Linked DNA regions of Homo sapiens: all the other regions are linked to region 2. The links are contacts of gene promoters, found by promoter capture Hi-C in blood cells and fetal thymus (Javierre and others, 2016). All regions are on one chromosome and are shown on one strand. Each heading gives the region's core, a stretch centred on a gene start or on the middle of the fragment in contact. The rest is flanking DNA. Distances are from core to core; before and after follow the strand shown.

What was found. Contacts are between HindIII fragments. The CHiCAGO score rates a contact against its expected background, and 5 or more counts as called.
Region 1: a contact is called between the fragment with the promoter of SRD5A3 here and the fragment with the promoter of FIP1L1 in region 2, in 1 of 17 cell types (total CD4 T cells). The highest score is 6.8, in total CD4 T cells.
Region 3: a fragment that was not itself captured here is called in contact with the fragment with the promoter of FIP1L1 in region 2 in 1 of 17 cell types (total CD8 T cells); the score reaches 5.1 in total CD8 T cells.
Region 4: a fragment that was not itself captured here is called in contact with the fragment with the promoter of FIP1L1 in region 2 in 1 of 17 cell types (naive CD8 T cells); the score reaches 6.2 in naive CD8 T cells.

What each region holds. Positions count from the first base shown.
Region 1 is chr4:55,340,988-55,348,034 of GRCh38, reverse strand. It overlaps SRD5A3 (steroid 5 alpha-reductase 3), which reads right to left and starts at 1,793. Exons shown (of 5, transcript NM_024592.5): 1 at 1,478-1,793. The coding sequence starts at 1,698. RefSeq lists silencers at 1,211-1,480, 1,691-1,860 and an enhancer at 1,312-2,072. The HindIII fragment of the contact is 3,550 bases long and covers 1-2,837 here.
Region 2 is chr4:53,374,379-53,381,594 of GRCh38, reverse strand. FIP1L1 (factor interacting with PAPOLA and CPSF1) reads right to left here and starts at 3,954. Exons shown (of 18, transcript NM_030917.4): 1 at 3,672-3,954; 2 at 2,478-2,522; 3 at 2,331-2,370. The coding sequence starts at 3,756. It overlaps LOC105377654 (a long non-coding RNA gene), which reads left to right and starts at 3,855. Exons shown (of 3, transcript XR_007058118.1): 1 at 3,855-3,936; 2 at 5,865-5,998; 3 at 6,998-7,216. RefSeq lists a silencer at 3,377-3,466 and enhancers at 3,139-3,687, 3,627-3,746, 3,797-3,886, 3,688-4,236. The HindIII fragment of the contact is 4,469 bases long and covers 2,621-7,089 here.
Region 3 is chr4:51,855,209-51,862,154 of GRCh38, reverse strand. All of the region lies in intron 1 of DCUN1D4 (defective in cullin neddylation 1 domain containing 4), which reads right to left. Among named protein-coding and RNA genes, the nearest start is that of DCUN1D4, 16 kb to the right of the region's middle. The HindIII fragment of the contact is 3,250 bases long and covers 1-3,089 here.
Region 4 is chr4:52,038,814-52,045,464 of GRCh38, reverse strand. LINC02480 (long intergenic non-protein coding RNA 2480) reads right to left here and starts at 660. Exons shown (of 3, transcript NR_147189.1): 1 at 430-660. The HindIII fragment of the contact is 2,140 bases long and covers 3,925-6,064 here.

The sequences.
Region 1 (7,047 bases), core at 544-3,043, 2.0 Mb before region 2:
GGGGATGATTTTACATGTGCCATTTAATCCAGGTACACTAGACTAGTACCTTTCTCAAAACTCAGAAAATAAATTGCTGTGAAGTATAAAAGGATTCAACCCTGATTACAAATGGGATAACAGGTAATTTTTGCTTAAAAAGAGCCTCTAGGAAACAGGAGGTTTGATCAATTTGTTTCATGTACTTCTACTTCTTCCCTTTAGGGTGCCTCAGAATGACCTAGTTCTCCCTTCTCTGTGTTAACACATGACACATCTTTCTCTGACAGTCAAAATTCGCAGATTATCCAAGTTTTAGAAGCCAAATTATACTTGTCCCTTTGTTGCCTGCGGACCTGGGGCACTGCCTATGAGTGTTTCAAGCGACAACCCAGATGTTTTTAACCTTTAAAAAAAAATTTTTTTTAAATACAAGGTATTTCTCTGTTGCCCAGGCTAGAGTGCAGTGCCATGATTATAGCCCACTGCAGTCTCCAATGCCTGATCTCAGATGATCTTCCTGCCTTCATTCCAAGTAGCTGGCACTACAGGCACACGCCACCAAGCCCTGCCAATTTTTTGTATTTTCAGGAGAGACGGAGTCTCACTATATTTCCCAGCCTGGTCTCGAACTCCTGAACTCAAGCGATCCGCCTGCCTCAGCCTCCTAAAGTGCTGGGATTACAGGCGTGAGCCACTGCGCCCGGCCTAAGATGCATCTTAAGGGGCACTGTTCTATTTCTACCATCTCGAATAGTATTTGGCCAACTCTTTCCAGCTATGTCCTGAATTTAAAGTGGAAAAAGGAGAAGAAGAAAATTATAACAGGTCTCTATTTAAAACCTGACGATTTAATCCTTCGCTGAACTGGGTTACAGAATTTTTCGAAAGTCAAATGGAGCTTCGGGACGGGCCTGCCTATGACCTGCACCTTGGGCCACCTTCCCCAGGGGCACCTGCCAAGGTGCAGGTTAGGGCGACTCAGTCCTTTGTCCCCACTGCAAGGGTTGGGAAGAGAAACGGGGGAAGCCGAGGCCGAAGAGCCGGCCTAACTTCATTTCCACAAATGATTCCCGGTGACCTCAAGTTAGAGTATGAGCCACTGGAGTGCAGGGTACGGGAAAAAGGAGAATTTGGGGCAAGGGGCACTTCAATTTGCCGCCTAAATTCGCATGACCAGGCCTAAATTCGGATGCGTTGCCATTTCCCACAGGGAAAGGCTCCGTGCGGCTACCAGTTCACATTCCTCCAGCTGAGTGCAAGCGGCTCCGCTCTCCCTCGGCGTCCGCGGACACCCGGGCACTGCTCCCCGGAGCCACGCAGCAGCCGGGGCATGGCCGGGGCCAGGCCGAGGGAGCGCCGTGCTGCGCCCGGGAACCCGCCAGGGCCTCCCAGGCCGGGTCCCGCCTCTGCTGCCCCCTGCTGGCTGCCCGCGAGCCGGGGCGCCCCGAACTCTCAGCGCCTTGACCACCGCGGCTCGGGACCGGGGCGCGGTTACCTCTTGGGGACATCAAAGGCTCGGCAGGCGGCGGGGCGCGACGGCTCCCCACACTTGGTTTTCCCATAGCGGATCAGGTCCTGGAAGATCGCGCAGCCCGGGAGCAGGCCGGGCGGCAGGAGCTGCAGCAGTAGGGTCAGCAGGAAGGCGGCGGTCAGCGTGAGCCACACCGCGCGCAGCGGGTTCAGCGCCGAGTGCTCGGCCTCCGCCCAGGGAGCCATGGCCCGCGTGCCCGCCTTCCGCGCTGCTGGCGCCCCCACCGCCCGCTAGCCCGCGGAAGAGCGGCCACTAGCGCGCGGCGCACCGGTCTCAGCCTAGCGGGACGTCGGTGACGCGGCGCGGGGCGGGGACGCGCAGAGCCCCTCCCGGACTCGCCGCTCAGCCGCGGAGGTCCTTGGTCCTGGTCGCGCTGGCGCTGGGTGGTCGCTCGCAGTCCCTAATCTGGGCATGGGGATTCTTAGATGGAGCTCCAGAATATGATTCATCAGAAGCAAAGACGCAAAACAGACGAGACCACGTGTCTGCCACTCTTATCAACATTATCTCCAAAGCAAAAAATGGAAACCTTACATGTTGCATTTTAGTTTATTTAGCTAAATTATGATACACTGACATGTTAGAATATCATGCAGTCATTGAGAATTATTATGACGAGTGTAGAAACAGGGAAAGCTGTTTAGGAAACAATATGTGAAGTGAAAAACAAAACCAACCATAAAAATACATAGCTATGATTGCAAACAACTATATTAATATGAATGTGTGTATATATGGATAAAGAAGGCAGATCACACCCAAAAATGAATAATTATGTTAGGATGCTGGAAATGTGTTGGATATGTGTATAATGTAAACATGTAGACAAGTAATTGCACATAATAATAAAAATCATAGTGGTAAAAACTGTGTTTAAAAAACAGCAGTCGCTTACCAATAGGGTTCCAATCCTTAGAAGCAAAGTTTTTAAATTCCATCAGCTGTTTCCTGTAACATTTATCTCAGGTAGTGACAATGCTATTTATTGACTCACTGATTTTAAACAACACTGATTTTATTTACTATAAGTGAAAATCTAGCTCTTTTAAGTATTTAAAAGTCTTTAAAATGTTAATTCTGAAGTATTGTATGCCTACTGTATGACAGGCATCATTTTGGATACTGAGGACAGAGGGGTTTACAAGATAATTGTCACTGCTTATTTGGAGCTTACATTTTTGAGATTGGGTGGTGGGTGAGAAGTGGAAGAGGGGAGAGGTAGCCAACTCATCACCCTTACCCCAATGAGATACCCGATATGTGTGTTGAATAAACATCAGGGTGGGTAGGTTAGTGGGACTTTGGACTGTTAAATGAGCAAGCTTTTAAAGTTTTCTTCTTTGTGCAAAAGACACCTAAGGCTTTACCCGTCCTTTGACAGCCAGGTGATTAAGGATGGTTAAATTGGCATTCTAGCTAGGACAATGAGGCCTTATTGAGTGATCCTGGATCTCTTTTGCGGGAGTCACCCTTTCACTGTTTCTTTCTTTTCTTTTTTTTTTTTTTGAGATGGAGTCTCGCTTTGTCGCCCAGGCTGGAGTGCAGTGGCCTGATCTCTGCTCACTGCAAGCTCTGCCTCCCAGGTTCACACCATTCTCCTACCTCAGCCTCCCGAATAGCTGGGACTACAGGTGCCCCCCCAACCACGCCTGGCTTTTTTTTTTTTTTTTTTTTTGTATTTTTAGTGGAGATGGGGTTTCACTGTGTTAGCCAGGATGGTCTTGATCTCCTGACCTCGTGATCCATCTGCCTCGGCCTCCCAAAGTGCTGGGATTACAAGCATGAGCCAATGCTCCTGGCACCCCTTCACTGTTTCTTTATTTTTCTTAGGTTAACTCTCTGTAAATGCAGCTGGTCTGTCCATGATCTTTTTCTTTTCAGAGAAGCTACTTGTAAGTGCATTGCAGGGACTCAGTTTCCTGGGTAGGAGTTTCTCTTACAGTTGTCTGACCTGGGGCAAGATTGAAAACAAGATAAGTGTGTGTGTATGTGTGAGTGTGTGTGTAGTGGAAACAGGAAGGGTTGAGGAGGCTGGAGGGGAAAATCATCCCATATATTTTTTAGATTTTTTTTTTTGAGACCGAGTTTCACTCTTGTTGCCCGGGCTGGAGTGCAATGGCACGATCTTGGCTCACCGTGACCTCTGCCTCCTGGGTTCAAGCTATTCTGCCTCAGCCTCCCGAGTAGCTGGGATTACAGGCATGTGACACCACACCAGGCTAATTTTGTATTATTAGTAGAGACGGGGTTTCTCCATGTTGGTCAGGCTGGTCTCAAACTCCCGACCTCAGGTGATCCGCTTGCCTCGGCCTCCCAAAGTGCTGAGATTACAGGCGTGAGCCACCCTGCCTGGCTATTTTTTAGATTTTAATCAGCATGCACAGTTTATATTCAGAGAAGCCCCCTGTAGATGGCAGTGGCTGAACAGAAAGCCGTAAGTTAAACCCTCCTGGGAGTATTTGTAAATGTAAATCCTTACTGGAGTGAGTTAGTTCAAAAGTGGAATACCAGGCTAACATCTGTTAGAAAGATCATTGCTAATAAATATCAGTGAGCATTTTTGTCTTTCTTCATTTAATTAACTGCACTATATGTTCAACAAACTACTGGTATTGCCTGCAGTAAACGGCAAAGCCATTTTTCCAGTTGCTCAGGCCAAAAACCCTAAACTCAACCTTGATTCCTGTCTTTCTCTCATAGCCTAAATGCAATCTGTCAGCAAATCCTGTTGGCTCTACCTTCAAAATATGAATCTAAATTCAATTATCCTTAGAGTCAGTGCTTTAAGTCCCTAGCCATCTCAATAAATCAGAAAAAGAAATAAAACATATAAGGACTGCTAAGTAAGAAATAACGCTGTCATTATTTGATGATTATATGAAACTCCAATAATAGAAACTCCAATGGCATCCACAGATAAGGTATCAGAACTAGTAGGCAGTTTGGGGAGGTTGCTGGAGATAAAAATCTGTTCATAAATATTATTTCTATTTCCCAGCAACAAACAGGAAATTGTACATTTTTATTTCTCATCAACGAACAAAAATTTGTATGTTTCAAAGGTACAATTCACAATGGCATAAAATATATGTCTAGGAATAAATCTAATAAGGATATGTAAGATGTTAGAAATACCAAAACTGTTAGAAATAGATAATCGGTGCCATGAAGAAAAGTCAGCACAGAGACAAAAGATCTCTCAGCAAGGCCATCTTTACTTTCTGCAGAAAGGGTGCTCATTCGCAGATGGAACAATGTCGAGAGCAAACTTGAACAAAGGAAAATGAGACATATTTATCCCTTACGCATTTGGGTTGTCCTTATTGCTGTGTCCTGCATCCATTGGCTGTATTGGGACCTCACCATCTTTTTTTTTTTTTTTTTTTTTTTTTTTTTTTTTTTTTTTGGGACGGAGTTTCACTCTTTTTGCCCAGGCTGGAGTGCAGTGGCACGATCTCGGCTCACCACAACCTCCACCTCCCAGGTTCAAGCAATTCTCCTGCCTCAGCCACCCTAGTAGCTGGGATGACAGGCATGTGCCACCACGTCCAGCTAATTGTGTATTTTTAGTAGAGATGGGGTTCCTCCATGTTGATCAGGCTAGAACCTCACAATCTTAAACTGATACCTGATTTGCTAATAACCTGAAACTTTCCTAAATAGGTAAGTGCAGGGGAGAACAAATAAGTTGCTTATGAAAGGTTTAAGGAAGAAATAACATTTCCAAATAAGGAAGGGGCATAGGCTATGAGCTGGAACCTGCCTGTGAGCATGTCCAACAGTTACATAGGATAGGGCTTAACGGAGAGTTATTAGCAAAAAGCAAGGAGGCTGGAAGAAAGTCTTTAAAAAAAACTATTATGTCTAACACTTATGACTTATTCTTTAACAAGAAGGAAAACTTTGAAGAGGAAATTTTTACTTTCTACAATCCCTCCTCTTTTAGTTTTCCTCTTCAAACTTGCTTAACATGTCTTGGCTTAGTTGTTTTGATTAACTCCTGGACGTATGGTACAACATAATACCTAAGAAGAAGGAGTATACTTATTATAGTTGTTAAAGAGGTAAGAATTCAGGCTATGGATTTTTTCTTTTTCTGTTGATGAAATGCCAAGGTAAAAGGGATAGCCAATTGAACTAGAGCATAAGTACCACTCTAATTATTTGGCAGAGTGTCCAGTAAAGGTCCTCCATAATACCACCATACGTCCGCTCGGGGATGAATAAGGGCAGACTGATGGGTCAGCTCTTGGAAGTGCCTGACTTCACTGCATCCTGTTAAGTCTCCAAGGAATGCCAAAATTTTCCTCTTGTCATTAGAGACTAGAGGTAAAATTGGTTTTGGAAGATGGAGGCTGGATGGCACTCGGGGGCTGACCCACAGGGTGTTGAGCTTCAGGAAATAGCAGAGAAAGAGCTTGGTACAATTTGTTATTCCAGGCAGTGGAATCTTGAAAAAGAGGTACCATGCACTCTATGTCCGCTTGATTTGAGGACCATCCCAGTGGAAAGGGAACAACCTGGGCCTTTGGCCTACTGTACGCAAAAGCCTAACAGTCGCTTTTGTTTGAAGTGCGAACGGAATATTTAATCCATTTTAACCAGGCATTTACATCTTTATACCCTGTTTCAATGGCTGTGGTTTACCTTAGGTCTCCTAGTTCTACTACTGAGACCTTGCTTTTGTCATTTGGCATGAGGCGAGGCATAGTTTGATTTCGTAGGTTTAGGAAAGGGGCAGTTGTAGGAGGTGGAGGAGGGAGAACAAAGCGCATCTTAAAGAAGCCTATGGATCCTTTCCAGTGACCTCTGCTCCTAGACCACAGAAACGCTTTAAAGTGGGGTTAGAGTTGCTAGTGGTAGGAATAGTAATGGATATAGGCACTGGGTTAGGAAAGGAAAAGAGAGATAGACTAAGCTTTTCTTAGCTTTTATTTGGTAGGGCTTGATCCAGGAACAGTGGCCCATGATTCTTATGATAATGGCGCTTGCTTGACTCGGGTGTGCTGTGTCCATCCCCGTTCTGCTGTAGGAACAGCAGTCTTGGTGGGTAGCAGCACAAGGCAGGGTCCTTCCCAGGCTGGCTTGAGTTTCCCTTCTTTCTACCCTTTGATGGGAACGTGATCCCCAGGGTGGTGCTGGTGTACTGGAAACTCCAAGGGCGGCGCCTGTGCTAAAAGACCTTTTGTTTTAAGGGAAGAGAAGGTGGAAGAGAAACCAAGTATATAATTTCCAAGAAATTGATTTTTTGTTTTAAATGTGGGGATATCAGCAGTGGATTTTACAGTCCTTAGTGTCTTCTTGCTGAGAAATTTCCGTTAGCACCTATTTTTATTAGTTTTTAGGCCAAAGAAAGCCAAACACCATTTTATATTTGACAATGCTTCCTGCATGATTTTATACCAGATAAGCTGAATTTTACCTTTATATTAGTGTGTTATTAATGTTAAACTTAATTTTAATAAAACTTTATGGACATATTTATCCAATTTTAATGTCTGACCATAAGGTAAGATTTTTATAGACTCTTTTTA
Region 2 (7,216 bases), core at 2,705-5,204:
AAATAAAGCAAAATGAAAGATAAAAAGTCAAAACATAACTGTTATATTTTCATTGTTCTACTGCTTGCTTCAAGAAAACAAATATGCAGCTATAATTGTTCAGTACATTTACCTCCTGCTGAAATAAGCTTCTAGGTAGCCAGAAGCAAGTCCCATTTGCTTTCTACGTCACAAAACAGTATCCCTTCTTTAGTCAAAACTTGGATAGATATAACACAATTGGAGACTGCAATGCAATGTTTAAGAAAAACAGAGGCTTCAGCAATGAGCCAGTCAGTAGGAAACGGGCAAATTCTAATAGCAGGAACTTTGGTAGAGCAATGCAATGATGTACCAAGCCAGATAGCAGTAGGTCTGGCAGAGTACCTTTCTTCAATAGGCCTACTCTTTTGGAAGTTTTAATTTTCTATCACCATTAAAATGTTAGAAACATGATAAAATTTTAAGCTTTTTCTAGAAAAATAACACTGTAAAGGAAATTGTTTTTTCCCCCATAGGATGAAATCAACTCAACGGCTCCCCAAATGAAGTTGCAGAAAGGAATATAAAGCTATGTTGACAGTGACACTCAGGGAAGGTAGAAGGTTCCCTCCAATAAATTTTAGCAAGTTGTGTATTGCGGAATTAAAATTAAAGAATGTTTGATTAGAAAGTAAGCTTTTAAAATTGTAACCAATAAAAATAAAAATTAATGGGATAAAGATTATCATATAGAAAAGTATATTTGATTGTAAAACTATACCTGTAATTAATTTCTTGACCAACTGAAGGAATGGGTACAAAGAAATATTCAATCACTTTCATAACATAAACTAAAACTAATCTCAACTTTGTGGTTGAGATCAGAATTAGGAACTGAGTTGAATATATAAATTTTAAAATGAAATAACATTTCAGATAATATACCAATGAGTGAAAAGACTATAGGGGATTTTTTGGGTAAGGAAGCTGAACTGTAGTTTCAGCTCCTCCTAAGCTATTTCTACTTCCATTTCTCACTTTTTCCCTCTATCCATTTTTTGTTGTAACAGCTTTGAGATGCAATTCACATATTATACAATCTACCCATTCAAACAGGACAACTGAGTTTTAATATGGTCACATAGTCCAACCATCACAACTATCTAATTCCAGAATGTATGCATCACTCCCAAAAGGAACTTTGTATACATTAGCAATCACTCACCCAACTCTTAGTAACCACTAATCTGTCTCTACGGACTGACATCTTTAGCTTCCACATTTGTAAGGTTCATCCGTGTTGTAACATCTACCAGTACTTCATTTTATTGTCCTTGCCAAATAATATTCCGCTGTATGGATATAACACATTTAATCTATCCATTCATCAGTTGATGCAGCTGCGAGGTTTTCTTTTTCCACTTTCTATTAAGAATAATGCTGCTATGAATATTCACGTACAAGTTTTTGTCTGAATATGTTTTCATTCCTCTAAGGTGGAGGACTCACATGGTAACTCCATGTTTCACCATTTGAGAAAATGGCCAGGCTGTTCTTCAAAGCAGCTGCACCATTTTACAATCCCACCAGAAGTGTATGAGGGTTTTATTTCCCCATATCCTCACTAACACCTGTTTTATCTTTTCGATTGCAGCTTACTCGGTATGAAGTTGTATATCTTCCACTTTTTAAACCCAAATATTCCTTAAAATCTTCTAACTACCTCTCCCTCCATTACAGACACTAATGCATGTGGTCAGGGTAAAGCCGACATCTCCATGTACTTCTTTACATGGCTTGCTTTTTGAAATCTGGGGTAAAATTCTGACTCCCTGTATATGTTCTATAAATGAACACTTACATCTTTCTTACAATCTAACAAAGAAATCAACCTTATAACAAATCAGCTAATTACATTTTGAATGCAAACAATACATAGCATTGAAATTACAACCAAACTGCCATTATATCATCAAAAATGTTAATAAACTGGAAAAGCAGTAGTTTGGAGTGTTCCTGATTTACTTAAAAACATTTTCAATTAAGTTAAAATATTTTTATCAGTAGCTTAACGATTATACTGTATACTTCACTACTGAATTCACTTAAGAGTAACAAGTTACTTAACAGTGTAAAATCAGTCCAATCCTAAGTTCAAAAACTTTGTCCTTTAAACTACCAACAAATAGAATTGGCGTAAGATTAGGTCCTGAAACTGGAATAATCCTTAAAGGATTCAATGTCCTCCAAAATGTTGTAAGTCAGTGTTGTAATGAAGCCAATGATTGTAAGAAAATAATTTTGACAACTGACAGAACCATTGTTTCACACAACCTGTGTAATAGGCATCAACAGAAAATTTCACTAACCTGGCATTTTCTTCTTCTGGCCTTTCAACTTCATTTTCATCTACCAAGTAAAATAAACAAATAAATAAATAAGCAAACAAAATAAAGAAACCACTCTTAAAGAAACTAGTATTATGAAAATCTGAAGTGATCATCACAAGCACTAACCTAGGTCCTTTGCCAAATCACTGTGCACATGCACGTCCCATGGGCCTATAAGCACATCCAAAGTTAGATCACCTTATAATTACTTAACAAGATACTTATTTTATGGAAAAAAAAATCAGACTTTACTGCTATAAAAATAAGCTTAAATTTAAGAGGTAATGAAGATTTCCAGATCTTTGTAAAAGAAATCCTACACATTCACATTTCAAAGAGTAGTAACTAATGCTAAATCTTGCCACCAAACGATTTTTTTTTACAAGTTTATCAAAGTCACATCATCAAGGACCTGCATGGTGCCCAAAGTGCACTTTTACTATTCTATTCTAAAGACAATCAAGAATATATGTTTTAGGCAAGGAACAAACATTAACTTTCAAATCTGGTGTTAACAAGCAAGAAGGGATTGTGACTTAAAGTTAAAAACCAGATGTCAAACAAGTACCCTTCTAGAGAGAAGTACATGATGCATTAAATTTATTTTGAGAAAAACAAATACATGAGATGACACTGAAAACTATAAGCCGAAGGGTCATGAGATACCTCCATGATGTAGGTTAAACGGTAGTCTCTTAAAAAAGAATAACTTCACCTTAATACAGGAGACATTCAGAGTTTTCTTTATGGGCCATCTTTCTCTCTCTCTCTCTTAATTAATTATTTTTAAAGCACGACTTTCAGACAAGGAGGTACCCTTGCAGGTGCATTCCATACAAACTGACCATCAAGAAACAAGACGTTAGTTGTACAGCATTAACTTTATTTAGCTATTATTACAGAATGACTGTTTCTGAAAGAAGGGACAGGAAGGGCACCCTAAGGCCACAGGGCAAAAACAGACACCAAAAACCACCACCTCAGAATCGACAGAAAAAAACAAGGGTAAAGAGCGCAGCAGCTAGGCGATCGAGACGCCTCGGGGAAAGCACAGCGAAGCCGGGGGCCAGGACCGGTCACAGCCCCCCAGCCCGGCCCGGCCGCCACAGGGGTGGATGCGCATGGTGGGCGTGGGCCAGGCGGGAGACCGCCGCGGGGACTGGGGGCACGCGCACGCCGCGCTCGGCCTAAGTCAGGCCGGACAGGACTCCCAACCAGAGGCCCGAAGCGGCGGCGCGAGAGGCCAGGGACGCCGGCCGTTTGAGGGCCAAGAGGGGAGGCCTGAGAGAACCCGAGAGACAGAGACAGGAAGTTTCGTACCGCCATAGAGCCACTCTTCCTCCTCATCCCCTCCGGTCCCGCCGCTCAGCTCCGACACTAGGCGCTCGACCTCGCCGGCCGACATGGCCGCCCCGAGCGCAACTTAAACGCGGCGATCAACAGCCCCCTCCAACCCCTTCCCCAGCCTCGCAGCCCCGAGGCGCGAGAAGGGCGCGAACCCGCCGACGAACGAACGAAGAAAGCTCGAGACTCCAATCCCAGGAAGGCGACGGCAGCGGCGGCAAAGATGAAGCCTCCAGCGCAGGTCCGTCTGCGCATGCGCAGGAGACCCAAGCGGCGCGGCGCGTATAGGTGGCTTCGCTTCCGCGGCGGCCACCTGGGCCTGGTTGCGCCTGCGCGCTGAGGTGGGCCCCGCCCCTCTAGGATCCCGGTTTGCTATTTTGCGTGGCTTCCTCCCGTGGCGTCCTGAGTCGGCCAGGGTTCCCCGCCCCCACCCTTCTTTTTAATAACCCGTATTGCCATTGCTGGCGAGTACACCATTGTTCCCTTCTACTCTTCGTGCTCTTTCTTCTCAACTTTTTATTTGTTTTTTAATCTTCAGAAAGGCCTTCTTTTATTCTTTAATCAGCCTTGATACAGAATCATTACCTGTCACTCCCTTTCCTCACTGAATAGAGAAGAAATCACAATCAGTACTATTTCTCAAAAAATTAATTTTCACAGCCAACAAAAGCAAAACTAATAGATGAAGAATGCACTCTCCTTGTTAAAAACCATAAATTACTGTCAAGGTCAAAGACCGCCTCATTCCCCTACCCTTCTCTCCGGAGGTAGCCCTTGCTACAGATGCATATCCTGTTTGGAGTTCATCATTCCGAAATTTCCTATACACTTACTTCATGTGTTGTGCTGTTTTGGTGGGAGAACCTGAGATTGACAAGTCTTAAATAGTACAGTACAGTATAGTATCATCCTTCGACTTCCTTTTTTTTCTTTTTTTTTAGCATCCGTGTCTTGGAGCTCTTTTTCATTTTAGTATGAATCAAACTATATCTATTTTAAGTGCTTCATAAAATTGCATAGTATGGCTATCACAGAGTGAATATGGCTATTTCTCCATTGATGTACACCCAGATTGCTTTTGACTTTACACTTTTAACTACAACAAAAAATGACAATGAAGATCCACACGGCTCCTTGCAGATTTGTCTGTTTCTCAAAGATAGATCATAAAGTATGTACAGTTTTTATTTTAATAGGTAAACCAAATGTTCAGGCCGCTTCTGAAAGCACATCTTCCAGTGAAAAGATGACATACCATGGTTCAAACTGGAGCTCTAGGTTTGTCTAGGTTTTTTGTTTGTTTGTTTATTTATTTGAGGCGGAGTCTCACTCTGTTGCCCAGCTGGAGTACAGTGGTGCGATCTCTGCTCACTGCAACCTCCACCTCCTGGGCTCAAGCGATTCTTCTGCCTCAGCCTCCCAAGTAGCTGGGATTACAGGCACGCACCACCATGCCCAGCCAATTTTTGTATTTATAGTAGAGAGGGGGTTTCACCATTTTGGCCAGGCTGGTTTTGAACTCCTGACCTCAGGTGATCTGCCCACCTTGGTGTCCCAAAGTGCTGGGCTTACAGGCATGAGCCACCACGCCCGGCCTGTTTTTTTGTTTTGTTTTGTTTTGTTTTGTTTTGTTTTGTTTTGTTTAAAAAACAGTCTTACTCTGTAACCCAGGCTGAAATGCAGTGGCAGGGTCACTGTTCACTGCAGTCTCTACCTCCCAGACTCAAACAGTCCTCCCACTTCAGCCTCCTGAGTACCTGGGACTACAGACAAGCAGGTGCCACCACACCTGGCTAATTTTTTATTTTTTGTAGAGACAATGTCTCACCATGTTGCCTAGGCTGGTCTGGAACTCGTGGTCTCTAGCAATCCTTCCACCTAGGCCTCCTAAAGTGCTGGGATTACATGTATGAGCCACCAGGCCTGGCCTCAGTTCTTCATTATACCTAGCAGGTTGTATAGTCAGGCAATCAACCTTTCTATGCTTCAGTTTTCTCATCTATAAAATGGAAAGGCCAAGTTAGATGATCTCTGAGGTCTCTTTCATTTATAAAGTTTACAAACAGGGCATTCGCTTGTCAACAGAGAGAAATCCATTTTGATTGAACAACTAAATGAGTTTTCTTGCTCCTTGATGAATAAATATTGTTTTATCATTTATTTATTTAGCAATTACAGAATATCTGCTCTGTTTAAGAACTTGGAAAATGAAGACATGAGTGAAACAGTCCCACCCCTTAAAGAACTCTGAAGTTATTGAGAAAGACAGAGGGGCAGTAAACAACTCTCCTACAAGAGAAGAGGTGAATGTGTTGTAATAGAAGCACAAATGAAGGGTTTACGCCCAACCAATATCTCACATTATTTAAACAAACCATGTGGTTTTAATCTTTCTTACCTTTGAACACACTTCTGCCAGCTATTCCCAGCTCCCTTATCTTTTTATGATAATCTCTTGCATCCTTCTAAACTCTCTGGGGGTATAATCACCTTTGTGAAATCTTTCCTGAATCCCATTTTATCTCTTCCCATTTGTTTTGCCAGGAACTCTTCCAGCTATGTAGATTCAACAGTGAATAAAACAAAGTTCTTTCTTTTGTGGAGCTTTGATTCTAATAAGAGAGTCAGATAATAAACATATGAACGTATGATATGTCATGATGACAAGAATTGTGAAAAGAGTAAGCAATATAAAATGAAGTGATGGGGTGCAATTTTATATGGAGTGGTCAGGGAAAGCTACTCTGATGAAGTGATACAAGAGACTTGAATGGAGACAGGAGGTGAGCCCCGTGGATTTCGGGGTGACAGACTATCAAACAGAGGAATAAGAAGTGCAAAGGCCCTGAGGTAGAAGCATACTTGGCATGTTCAAGAAACTCAAAATGTAGCTAAAGTATAGTGAGTGAGAGAGAATGCAGATGAGGTCAGATGTATTTGGGGGGTGAGTGGGACAGAGCAACTCACTCCTTCTAGACACCATGCTGCTTCTATGCCATGTGCCTATCACACTGTATAGTAATTATTTGACTATATTTCTGTTTGCCTCAGGCTCTTCGCTAGACCAAGTCCACCTCCAAACAGGGCATCCCATAGCCATCACTTCAATTCCTAGTATAGTGCTTAACGCTGAGTAAATCTTCTTGGTCACTGTTGAAAGTAATAGAATGAAGTCTTATAGACTGTTTATGAGTATCGTAAGGCAATCACTCACAGTCCTGTCTATTGATCGTTCTATTTATTTAATTGGTTTCATGAGAAAACCAATTGCCTTTTGTTAAGGGATCTTTTTCTGTTTTCAGCTGCCTTTCAAGGCATTGCTTAAACATAACTGAAGAAATGATGAACAATACTAGAATAGCTTTTGTGGTGGAGGTAGCATTTGAGCTAAGCTTTGAAAATGAAGATTTCCACAAGCAAAGAAGCACATAAATCACTAATAACTACTCTGAAAAGACCTCTTCCTCCTTGCTTCTAAGCTGAGTTTCTTGCCTGAATATGCTTTCTTAGTTAAAGGTATC
Region 3 (6,946 bases), core at 215-2,714, 1.5 Mb after region 2:
ACCAGCATTTTGTGCTGAGAGACAGCCAGAGCAGGGCCTCAAGCTCTAAATGGCCCTCCAATATAGACATGCTTGAATTGCTTAGCATCTGAATAGCCCAGCCATGCTTAAGGTAAATGATGACATAAAGTGGCTGAGAATCTGGATTTTTCATCTAAATACGACTGCACAGAGGTTTAGAAAAGTATGTGTATTATACACCTATTTATTTACATTTATATTTATTAAACGTGAACAGGGGTAGAAGCTAGAAGCTACAGCCCTCTCACCAGCAAGAGGCCTCTCAGGACCAGCAAGAGGTGCTGAGGAGCTTGAACATTCAACTCTTGCACCTCCACCCCATCCACTACCAAGCCATAGCCCCCTTTTTGTACTCTCTCAGATTAAATATAGGAAGACAAATGATACATTCCATTATCACCTTAAAATATGAAGTTAAACTCTTGGGCCCCCAAAAAAACAAAAAGCAAAAACTGAGAAAACTTTAGCCTCTTGATTCTCTTTTCACTGAGGGTAAGGGAGGGGAGAGAAAAAGGGGCTTGCCAAAAGCCATTCCAGCAATGAGGTCTCTTCTAACTCTCCAGGCTATGCTTTTGTCATTTCACCACCCTGCTGTTAATTAAACTCCCAAAATTCCCATAAGAGAATCTAAATAAACCAAAACTGTTATATCTTTCTCCCTCCTTTATATAAATGTGGAAGAAGTAGAAAAGACAAGAAACACAAGTTATCCTCAATCTGGAATTCCAGGACTTCGGTGAGCTGGGCCCAACTCATACTCCAAACATCTTTCACCACCCCACTCCACAAAACCCTTCCTTCCAACCCCACATTCTGCCCACTGCCCTTCCTACACCCAAGAGAATTCAAATGTGTGCACACACTTGCACACACACACAAAACCACTCTATTCCTGTCAAAAATCCACTTTGCTTCACAACCTGACTCTGGAGTCTAACAGCTGGTTCAAATCTCAGGTCTACCAATTTTCTCATCTGTAAAGTGAGGATAAAAAATTCTCCTTCATAATGTTGTTGTATGGTTGAAAATATTTATCAGACACCTATTACAATGTCTAGGTATGTCAGGTACCCATTACAATACCTGGAAGATAGTAAGTGCTCAATAAAAGACATCAATTCCGACTATATTTACTTACACCATTCTCCATACCACACAGCTGTCTAAAATAGTCTCTAACTTTTCCTAGGTTCAATTCTCGCCTTACATCAATGATCCCAAGGTCAGAGCTTCCTCTGTAATTGAGGCAGGTGGCCTGGTACATCTTTTAGCCTATGATGGTGATATAGTTTGGATATGTCCCCACCTAAGTCTTATGTTGAACTGTAATTCTCAGTGCCAGAGGTGGGGCCTGGTGAGAGGTGTTTGGATCATGGGGGCGGATCCCTCATGGCTTAGTGCTGTCTTTGAGACAGTGAGTGAGTTCTTATGGGGTTCAGTCATTTAAAAGTGTGTGGCACCTCCTCTCACCCTTTCTCTCTCTCGCTCCTGCTTTCGCCATGTGGTGTGCCTGCTCTCCATTCACCTTCCTCCACGATTGTAAGACTCTCTAGAAGCCAAGCAGATGCCAGCACCATACTTCCTGTAAAGCCTGCAGAACCGTGAGTCAATTAAACCTCTTTTCTTTTATAAATTACCCAGTCTCAGGTATTTCTTTATAGTAATGCAAGAATGGCACTGCGACTCATATACCAGCAACTGATGTTCATAATGTTGACTGCAGATAATCACAACACACAGGAACAAAAATACAGATATTATGTTTAAAATCAGGTTCCACGTATGAAGTTTTACTTTACTAAAGGCAACAAGAGTAAACAGGTTCATTTCACAAATACATAATATATGTCACCAATTATCCATTTCTATATCCAATCCCTATTGCTACCACATCATCATCACTTCAACTAAAAAAAGAAAAAAGAAAAAGGAAGAAATGAAACCAGTAACATGGATAATTTTTCTTTCGTCTCATCAACATAAGGAGAAGTTAAGACACAAATTCAGGAGAAAAAAAAGACAAAAATGTCATTAAAAGATAGATTCACAAAGGTTAACACACATTGGATTTACAGTTCATCTGTTCAATGCTCATGGCAAGTAATAGCCCTTGAAATCTACAGTAGATTTCACCTCCTTAAGGCCTAGATGTTAAGGGTAAAGATCAAATGCTTTACCGAGAACGTATTCTGGAAAGCACTGATTGATAAAAATCTCCTTCTGCTCGTATTTCAATTCCAAAGGATAAATGCTGGGTTTTGACTGCATTCCATGATCAGACGGCTCTCCAAAGTAAAGCAGTGCTGAGTCTGACTCTCCTGTGTGACATGGCAACTCTATAGTCTGTATTAAAACCAGCAATCAGCTCTACAAAGGCACAGCCTGCTTGATAAATAGCTTGCCTAGATTATCTTCTGGATTTTCTTAAAACTACCAACAACTGCTGATTGGGCATAAACTTGTCTGGGTTTTTTTTTTTTTTTTTTTTTTTTTTTGCTTGTTTTAACTACCATTTGCTGTGACCTACACAAAAGAAAAAAAAATGAATGCCATTGAGGGGGTCAAAGTCCATTCCCCCAAACTACTCTAGGTAAGAAAACTACACAATACAGGGGGAGACATAAACATTAATAAAACAATTATTGGTAAGTTCAGACAATGACTCTCAATCAAAAGAAACAAAAATTAACAGTCCTAATAGTTTACTCTCATAAGAGGGTTAGAAACAGAATTTAAATACATAAAAAGCAAAAACTTCCCTTTATACCATAGTCACTTGCAAAATATAACTGGGACAAGAACGCAATTATAATGGCAACAAAAAGCAACAATACATATAGGAATAAACTCCAATATGTATGATTTTATTGTTCAGAATGAACAATTAAAGTTTACTGAAAGATATACACGTAAAGAGATATTTCTGGAATAGAAAGACCCAACGTTGTAAAGCAATCACTTCTCCCTTCACTAAACCACAAATTAATGCAATCAAAATTCCTATTCTGCTGGCTCCCCAGTTCTCCACCCCAAAAAGAGGTGGGGAAAAGAAGGAAGTCAGGCAAGCTTGGCAGATTGATTCTAAAGTTCATCTGGAGAAATAAACATGTTAGGCCTGCCAAGAAATTGTTGAAAAAGAATGAGGATGAACTTGCCCTATCAGATATCAATACACAGTATAAAGCAGAGCCTGGTAAACTCTGTATGAAGGGCCAGATTGTAAATATTTCTGGATTTCTGGCCCATACAGTCTCTGTTGCAACTACACTGCCATAGTAGCTCAAAAGCAGCCATAAACAATACGTAAGTATGGCTGCTTTCCAATAAAGCTTTATTTATAAAAACCAGGTGGTAGGGCTGGATTTGCCCCATGGGCCATTGTTTGCCAAGACCTGGTATAAAGGTACAGTAATTAAAATGTTATACTATGTGTGCAAGAAGAAAAATCAATGACAGAGAGCTGATAAACATATACGTATAAATACACATACACAACATATAATTAAATGGCATTTCAAACTCAATGGAGAAGACATAATAATTCAGTAAACAGAGGGGCAACTGGTCAGCATGTAGAACAAATTAAAATTAATTCCACCTCACCCAATAGTTACAGATGGAAGGGGAAGCTGTTCAAAGCAAAAGAAAACTTATCATGGGCTCAGGGCCTTGTACACCCTGCATCTGCTAATCTCTCCAATCTCATCTTCTACTCATCTTCCCCTTGTTCATTCTACTCAGCCACAGTGAGCTTCCTACTGCTCCATTAACACTCCAAGAACACTCCCACCTCAGCGCCTTTGCACGTGCTGTTCTCCTTACCTTGAGCGCTCTTCCCCCTAATAATAACATGGTTGCTCTCATACTTCATCAGGTTTCCATTTTAATATCACCTTTGATGGATATGTTAATTAGTCTGATTTGATCACTCCACAATTATGCATGTATCAAAACATCACATTGTACTCCGTAAATATATACAATTATTTGTCAATTAAGGATAAAATTCTTAAAAATCACCTCCTTACATAACCTTGCCAGACCAACAGAGCCCCATCTTCACTCTATCATCTTACCATGCTTTGCTTTTCTTCACAGCATTAATACCATCTGACATTATATTATATATTTGTCATCATCCTCTCCCATTAGAATGTAAGCTCCACAAGGGCCAAGACTTAAATCTTGCCCATTGCTGTATCCCGTAATATTAATACCTAGAAGAGTACCTGGCACATATTAGGTGCTCAATAAATATTCAACAAATGAATAAACGCAGATACAAAGGCACCAAAGGCTTAAATTCAATACATTCAGGGCACTTCAAGTGATCTTCAAATGTGAGAAGTGTCATGGTAAGAGGAGACTGAACAGGAAGGCAAAGATCAGAAAATGAAGAACTTGTGAATCCTGCTTGAGCGTTTAGATTTAATCTCCTAAGGATCTGTACCTCAAACACAGGCACCAGAGACCATGCAAACGTAATGACAGGAATGGCACATTCCAGCAGCATCAATTCTAATCAGCAATAATATGACAGTCTTACATGAAAACAAACATAATCCCCACATCAAGCTGTGCTCCCAGGACCCTGAAACAACTTATTCCACCAAACTCTGTACAGGAAAACATTGGTGGGAAGTCTGAGAAGCACTCCTTTGAGAGTCTTGGTGCCATGGAGGTGTTCTGATCAGGAGAGTTATTTAAAAAGATCACTCTAGGACAAGTGTGCAGCAAAGATGATGGGTGATCTGAATTTAGAGTGGCCATTTATGGAGATGACTAGAAGTGACTGAGGTGGGAAAGCATTAGGGCCGTAAGTTAGACACTGGCTGTAAAAATGGAGAGGAGAGATTCTGAGTACACTGGAGTTGCAGAAAATAGATATTTAGCTTACACAAATTCAACTCTTCTCATTTGGTCAAAAAAAATAAAAAAGGAAGAAGCGAGATGAAAAGAAATTTCAGTTGTCTCACTAACTGCCCACCCTCCCTTCTACTTAATGAGCACGAGACATGACACATGAATAGTCACTCTGTTGGTCTCAGTTTCCACATGCCAATCAGATTTTGTGCATCTCACAATACGGTATGAGTCGAGTATTTAAAGTGATGTATTTTCATAAAACATGGTCCCTAAACTGAAGTTGAAGACGAGGCCAGATGCTTCAACTGGTGCTCAAATAAACAGCCAGAGATCTATTCCAATGCTGGAGGAAGGAATAGGCTGTGCTGGATTCTTCTGAGACAGCTTCCAAAGAGGAATCTTCTGCAAGTGTTTCCAGTGGTATTTTTAACACCAATGATCTTCACCTTACACAGGGACTTTAGAACCAACCTCTATATAAAATGTGATTGCAGTGTAAGGAAAAACTAACAGGACTGCATGTGAGAGATGAGCAAGTGAGGCACTCAATGGTTCATGTTCTTTTGTCCAATTCTCATTTTATTAGCTTGAGCGGAGTCAGAGAGCTAGCTATGGCCAAGCTGGGCAAAACTCTTATCTTCTAACTCCCAATCCAAGGCTACTTCTTCCATTCTAAATTATTTCCAATAAAAGCAAAAATATCAATCTAACTTTACACTCTGTAATAGGAAAAAAGCAGCAACGTTTCCTAACCAAAGCTGTCAACAAGCAACCACACACTTAAAGTAATTTAATATTAAAGAAAAAAATTTTAAAACTGGCTGAATCTAAAACAATTCACCATTTTTCCCCCAGGGAAATAATGGTACAGAAAAGATTTAACACCAGTGTTAACTTTCTATTTTTAAGCACAATTCGCTCTTCTGGTCACTAAAGCATCATCAAAGTGTTTTATTATTAAACTACAGCTGAACAATTCTCTCAGATATAAAAGTTTTAAACAGTATTATGCTCTTAACAAATGCTTTTCAAGTGACGATGAAAATGATGAAATAAACCTGTAAAGGCGGCAGAAGGAAAGGGCAAAATAGTGACCATGTTATTGCCAAAAAAGCAAAACAAAATTGGACAAAATTAAAGGTTACCATCTAACCTTGGCACTCATCTAAATGTCTCTGGAACAGAACAAGAACACGACTGAGGTATAGGGATCTGCCTCTCTAACTGGGATTCATCAGGGAATGCTTAAGGGTGTTTCAAGCCATGGGTCACATGGCTCAGCCTCCTGAAAAGTCAATTGTACCACGTGATATGGGAAAAGAAAACAAAAATTGTTAAAGCCAAGGCTGCACTGTGGTTGGGAGCCACTCTTTAGATTTGCCTTGTTTCCTTCCTTCTAGAAACACATGCCCTCTTTTCCATGGGTTTCAGATAGACTAGGGATGAGAATGTCAACGATGTGGAGCAGAGACCCATTCCAACCCACAAAGGATGCATTACAACCTTTTACTTGAATCACTGAGATGTTGTATTTGCTATTGCAGCATAAAAGAAAAAAAATTCTAGTCCTCACAAGGCTCTACGTGATCTGACCTAAGTCATCCCATTCCATTATCCTTGCCTACTCCATTCTAGCCACACAATTCGTGAATATTCAAGTGAATTCCTACCTCAAGGCCTTTGCATTTACTGTGCCCCTCAGCCTCCATGACCCTTGACGTTCACAGGCCCAACAGCTATCTTTCCTGAAATATCTATTTAAATGTCACCTCATCAGAGATGTCTCATCTAACTTCTTTATGCAAAACAGTACCTCCATCTCCCAGTGGATTTAGATTTTTTTCATAGCACTTACCACTTCCTGATATTAAAAGCTTTGAAATATAATTCACATAGCATGGAATTCACTCATTATAGTGTAAAATTCAATGGTTTCAGTATATTCAGAGTTGTGCAAACATCACCACAATCTAATAATAAAACATTTTTTATTAGCAGTCATTCCCCATTTCTCCCTTCACCCCTCTTCAGCTCTAGGCAACCACTAATCTACTTTCTG
Region 4 (6,651 bases), core at 3,745-6,244, 1.3 Mb after region 2:
TCAAAACATAAACACTGTTGCTTTATCTCACACTCTGCCAATTAGTGAATTCTTATGACTTCATATAAATCTTTAATCACTTGGAGACATTTTTTTCATCTATAAAATGAGTAATATGGAATAGATGAGCTCCCAGATCCCCTGCAGTTCTGACAGTCTTTAATACTGTTTTACCATACTGATTAGGTTCAAGATTGAGCAAATCTTGATCTTTGTTTCAATTTTTGGTTCATAGTTCACCTTAGGTCAAGCATTGATTTTGGGCGCATTAGCCAATCACCAAAAGTTGGGCTCCCTTTTTTAGTAAAATTTATTCTGCCAGCTTGCTAGAATAACTACTATTTCTAACCTCCAGTCAAGGAAGTTCTCTATAGTTGCACTTTTAACAAATTTAAACCCAGCTTAAACTGATAAACTTTTCCTAATTACCTCAACCCCTCAGAGCTCATCACTTTCTTCTTTATGCTTTCTCTCTTTAACTTTTGGACATGTTAATATTCTTGCAATTATCATGCTATATTATATTTATTTGCTTCCTATCTAAGCTTTTGAGCTTCATGAGGAAAAGGAGAGAGGCTTATTTAGCTTCATATCCTCAGCACAGCAACTGGCACATAAGAAAGAAGAAACAAGTTGGGAGCCAGGAGGAGGAAGAGAGGAAGGAAAAGGAAACAGATTGGAAAGGAAAGGATGTGATTGGCTGCTTTGTATCTGATGTCATAATCCACTGAGATAGAAGGCAATTTTAACAGCCAATTCGTGGTTCTTACGGTGTCATAATTCTACTACCTAGCCAGGAGTGATTTGTTCTAGAAAGGATAATGTGTCAAGTACGTAGATGGAATAGGGTTTTTGTTTGTTTTTGAGACGGGGTTTCACTCTCGTCACCCAGGCTGGGGTGCAATGGCATCATCTTGGCTCACCTCAACCTCCATCTCTCGAGTTCAAGCAATTCTTCTGCCTCAGCCTCCCGAGTAGCTGAGATTACAGGCATGCACCACTACGCCCGGCTAATTTTATATTTTTAGTAGAAACGGGCTTTCTCCATGTTGGTCAGGCTGCTTTCAAACTCATGACCTCAGGTGATACGCCCACCTCGTCCTCCCAAAGTGCTGGGATTACAGGCGTGAGCCACCATGCCCGGCCTTGGAATAGATTTTAATTTTGTCTACCCTGGATTTTTACCTACATCAGTCAGCTTGAAAGATTTTTAATTGGGCATTTTAAGAAGCCAACAAAAGATGAGCTGAATCCACTGCCTGAAGTGAGAGCTGAAGTGAGAGCTATGTATATTTAGTTCACACTACACCAAACATAAATATATGCAATAAATTACAGGGGATTATATTACGCAGTAGGATTTTCATCTTAATTTCAAGTCTTCTTCACTAAGGACAGTTGCTAACCCTTAGCCAGGGGCTGATAAGAACAACCTGTGTTTGGCTTGGATGCTCTTTTAAGCACTCCTCATCCTTTCCTGGCTGAGCCACGGTATTCTTCTCCTTCTGCTGTCTGTGTTTGGATCTTGTGTCTTTGGATCAGGGCCTGTATTACTATTTGAAGAAAATCTTTTAGTCTTTGCTGACCCACTTGCATAAAGTTGCCTTTAAATGCAATGTTTATCCAAGGTATTGCTTAGGCCCTTTGTGCTCAGAGGCACTTTGTTCTTGTAGGTAGCAAAACACTTCTTTGTCCACTTAAGTGTTTTCTAACCTGAGTGTTCTGTATTCTCCTTTCAGGAGTTCTGTTTTGTCCTTTTCTCTGCCACATTAAGGGAAAGGAAAATATTTTCTAAAAAACACCCATTGGAGAACAAATGAATTTATTGGGAACTGAGTGGGAGGCAGGTTCCCCCACTGACAGAAGGAAGAATGCTGTTTGCTGTGTCATACCAAGGAGCACTACCCACACAGAGCAGCAGTTCAGAATTTTTTTGTACAATTATTTCATGTGCACTATTGATTAAACTATAAAAACAAGAGGAAATTTTAAATATATCACAAGTGTATCACCTTAGCCCCTAAATAAACTATAGAACATTTGCAACAAATACAGATTAGAAGGAGAAAAAACCCAAGGTAGATGTAGTGTGATTTTGGAGAGCTGCAAAATATTTTTCCTATCGCAACCCAGGTTTCCATCATAGGTTTTTCAGAAAAGAAGGCGTCCTCACCCTCCATCTTTTCAGCTCTGCTAGCTAAATGCAATGGCAAGGTCATGGTTCTGTGAAAATCCCCCGAGGAGGAGTAAGCTCAGGACATATCAAGCTATTGCAGAGACACAGTGGATATGGTCTACCTTGCAAGATGTCCTTAAGCACATCAGGAGAGGGATATGGGATAGCACGAGATAGTCCCTAGGATGAGTGATGTTGAAATAGATCCTTTTCAGCACTTTTAATAAACATTTACTGGATTTCTAGTGTGACACAACCATCTGCCTTAAGCATGGACAGAATTAAGCTCAGTCTCTGTTCCCTAGAATCTCATAATCTATTCAAGAAAGAGAAAAGCAACCATACTTCAATGTTGTCAGTTAGAGTAGATAAACGTTCTGCGGAAACAATGACTCCTCCTTTGCCTCCTTTCCCATCTTCTGAAAAAGGATCAGGGAAAGTCATAGAAAGGTAATGTTTAGAGCCTGTTTTGGAAGGATGGAGAGACGTTCACCAGGAAGAGAAGAGCAACTTGAAACAGGAAGAATCATAGCAAAGAGGCATGAAATTGAATGGAGGGGCAGAAAATGACAAATAGTAGTCCAATGTGACTACAGAGTAGTCAGGGAATCAGAGACAAGACTGCAAAGATAGTCCTGGTTTCAACTATGATGGGTCTTATGTATCAGGCTAAAGGAATTGATCTTTATTTCATAGGCAGTGGGGAGGCAGCAAAGGGCTGTAAATAGAAAAACTGTATGATTGGGTCTCTTTTATATCACATTGGAGGTCACAGAGGTTAAGTATGGAAGGGGCAGAACTGGACCCTTGAAAGAGCACTTAGAAGACACAGAGATGAGGGTTAGTCTAGTGGCCTTCTCTGGGGTATGGTATGGTGAGCATTAGATACCGATGTCAGAGATACTTAGATGCTAGTAATATTTTTTACCCAATAGAAAAAATTAATTTAATATTCATCAGAGCTATTAAGTATGTATTATATACTTGGTTCTTAATGTGTTCAGGACTTAGAGCAACATGGAAAATAATAACACATTACCTCTGCTTTGTAAGGAACTCAGTCTAATCAGAAGCAAACTGTATATGCATGAAAAGTAAAGTAACAAGATACTGCACTAAGTATCAAATGGGTGTTACAGCAAATTAGTGCAATAATAGTTAAAAGGAAAGAGGAATAAGGACTGGCTGTGATTGTCAGGAGGAGGTAGGACTGAGGTTGGTTCTGAAAAATGGGAAGAATCTGGAGAGGCATGAATTCACAGATAACTAAAACAGATGGACAAATAAATAAATTTCAGTATAGTGTGATGTGACAATAGCAGCATGCTTGGGGATCACAGAGAGGTCCACACAAATCAGAAATGTATGATTGGGAGAAGGTTTAAGAAAGGCTTTTCAGAAAAGATATCCCTTGATCTGAGTTTTAGTGGACAAGTAGAGACAGCTAGATTAAAAGGAGAAAGAGCCACATATGCAAAGGAACAGAGCCATTAAGAACTTGAGTTCGGGCAAGCAGATGGGGGCTGCAAATATTGCACAGGGATAAAGGGATAGATTACTTTGTCTCTGATTCCCTGACTCCTCTGTAGTCACGTTGGATGTGTGTGTGGGACAGGCAGGAAACAAGGCTAGAAAGGGGCAGAAGGACCAAAAGTTTCTAACCTTTTGGTGAAGGACCAAAATTTGGTGAAGGACCAAATATAAGGAGCTTAAATTTTATCATGAAAGGTATTGGAGTATGGTAAGCTTGAGGGTGAGGAGTGACATGATCAGATTTGTATTTTAGAAAGATCATTCCAGAAATAGTATAGAACTACTTTGAGGTGTCTGACTAGATGGTGATATCATTCACTAAGGGAACACAGGAGGACCAGATTGGGAAGAAAGGTTTTGAGTTCAAATTTTTCATGTGTTGAACTTGAAGTGTGTATTTGTAACACACAAACTTGGTGGCTTTAAACAACAGAAATTTGTTGTCTTACAGTTCCAGAGGTTAGAAGTAAGAAATCAGAGCCTTCTGGAGGCTCTAAGCGTATATCTGCTCCATCCCTCTTTCTTAGCTTCTGGTAGCGGTTGGCAATTATTGGTATTCCTTGCCTAGTAGAGTGATCACTCCAATCTCTGCTTCTATGTTCATATCATCTTAGTGTATGTTGCCATTCTGTCCTCTTATAAGGATAAGGGCTCATCCTAAATTCAGAGTGATCTCAAGATCCTTAAAAACATCTGTCTTAGTTCATTTGGGCTGCTATAACAGAATATGGACTAGGTGGCTTATAAACAACAGAGCTTTATTTCTCACAGTTTTGGAGGTTGGGACATCCAAGATCAACATGCTTAGAGATTTAGTGTCTGGTGAAGGCCTGTTTCCTGATTCATAGATGTCACTGTGTCCTCACATGGTGGAAGAAACAAACCAATTCTCTTGGATCTATTTTATAAAGGCACTAATCCTATTCATGAGAACTAATCATGAATAGTGATAGCTAATCACCCATCATTTCCTTCTATGATGTGAATGTGTCCCCAAAAATTCATGTTCGGAAATTTAATCTCCAATGCAACAGCATTGGGTGGTGTTGCCTTTTGAGAGCTGTTCAGGTCATAGGGGCTTGGCATTCCTCCCCTCAGGATGACAAGGTGTTCAAGGTAACATCCTGGAAACAGAGACCAGACCCTCATCAGACAACTGAACCTGCTTGGACTTCTCAGCCTCCAGAACTGTGGGAAAATAATTTTTTGTGCTTTATAAATTCTTCACTCTCAGATGGTCTGTTATAGAAGCACAAAGTGGACTAAGTCAGCTTCTAAAGGCCCTACCTCCTAATATCATCACACTGGGGGCTAAGATTTCCACATGTGAAATATTCAGGGGAGACACAAACATTCATTCTATAGCAATCTGCAAAGACTCTGTTTCAAAGTAACACCACGTTCACAGATACTGGAGGTTAGGACTTGGATATGCCTTTTTGCAGGGCACTATTCAAACCACTGCAAAGTGAACAAAGGTGTAAGTGTCTTCATAATCTGACTCATACTCCAGCCCTGGGGACCTGTGTTTTGTGCTTCCAAATGCTAATATCATGCAACAGTCAAAAGAAAGAGCAAAATTAAAGGCTGTGATGTATGGTAGAAAGAGCAAAGACTAGTCAGATGGACCTAGATTCAATACTGGCTCTTTAGGAGTTGAAAAGATGGTCAGCCATTTAACCTCTACAAGCCTTGATTTCTTCATTTGTAAAAGAGGCATTGCCAGGCACAGAGTTGACTTTAAATGTCATTATTTCAGGGGAAAAAAGGCTGACAATAGTACATTTGAAAATAACCCACATTAAAATGTGGTCATGTGAGTGAATTGGATCTCTTTAAAAGAGAATAGAAATTGGCATTAAGAATAGTGGGATGTCCTGTCAGAGATGGACATCAGCGATGAGGAAAGAATCCAAGAGAAGGTGATATTCAAATAGCCAAAGGAGCATTTGGTTTCAGGAAAATTGGCTACCAGGTATCTCACCACCTAAGTGGGAGGGAGGTTGGCAAAATCAAGTCAGGGCTTAGAAATTGGGATACTGGGCAGATTTCTAAGATATCTATTAAGTTTAATTACTGTGCTAGACATTGGAGATTAAACGATGAGTAAGACACCTACCTTCCAGATAGAACACACCATCTTTTGAATGAAATCAGCAGGTAGACAAGATAAAAATACAATGCAATCTGAAGTGCTAGAAAAGGCTAGGCACACAGTTAAGGAACAGATCTGTGGGAGCCTCTGAAGCCTTTAGAGAAAATATGACGTTTGAATAGAATAGTTCTTGAAGGATGAATAAGAGTGCGCGTGCCAGGGAAGAAGAACTTTCCCAGCAGAGAGAAAAACGCAAAGCTTAGGAATTAAGGACTAGAAGATAGGAACTCAGAATCAGTTAAAAGCCCAGTTGTGCAAATTGATCAATGAGACCACAGGCAGAATATTAACACAGAGCCTTACTGCTGACTCCTGCATCATTGGGCTTTAACTTAGAATTTTCCTGCCTAAAATGCATGTTTGTCCCACAGACTCAGAGAGGAGTGAGTCTAGAGATATGAGTCAAGTGGTTCCAGCATTTAGGAAAAAAGAAATGCAGAGAGACTGATGACCAGCTAGGTACTGACTCCCACTGAATTAGACAGTACTAGGGCCCAAAGGTGCTTATTAGAAGTGATTCAGCTACATGAGGAACAGTTGCTATTGACTTCACTGCATTTTTTTTCAGCTAAAATAATTATTGGATTATATCTACAACAGGGAACAATGAATGTCTACTCAAGTAACTCGTACATTTGAGTGGCTTCCCGGTGTTCAGTAAATGTCCGTTCAATTAGGTTCCCGAGGATATACATGGTAACACTATCTCCAACACTAAATGAAAAATCCATCCCCAGTATCGCAGGATAAAAACATCAGACTTCATAGGCCTCCGAAGTCAAGCAGC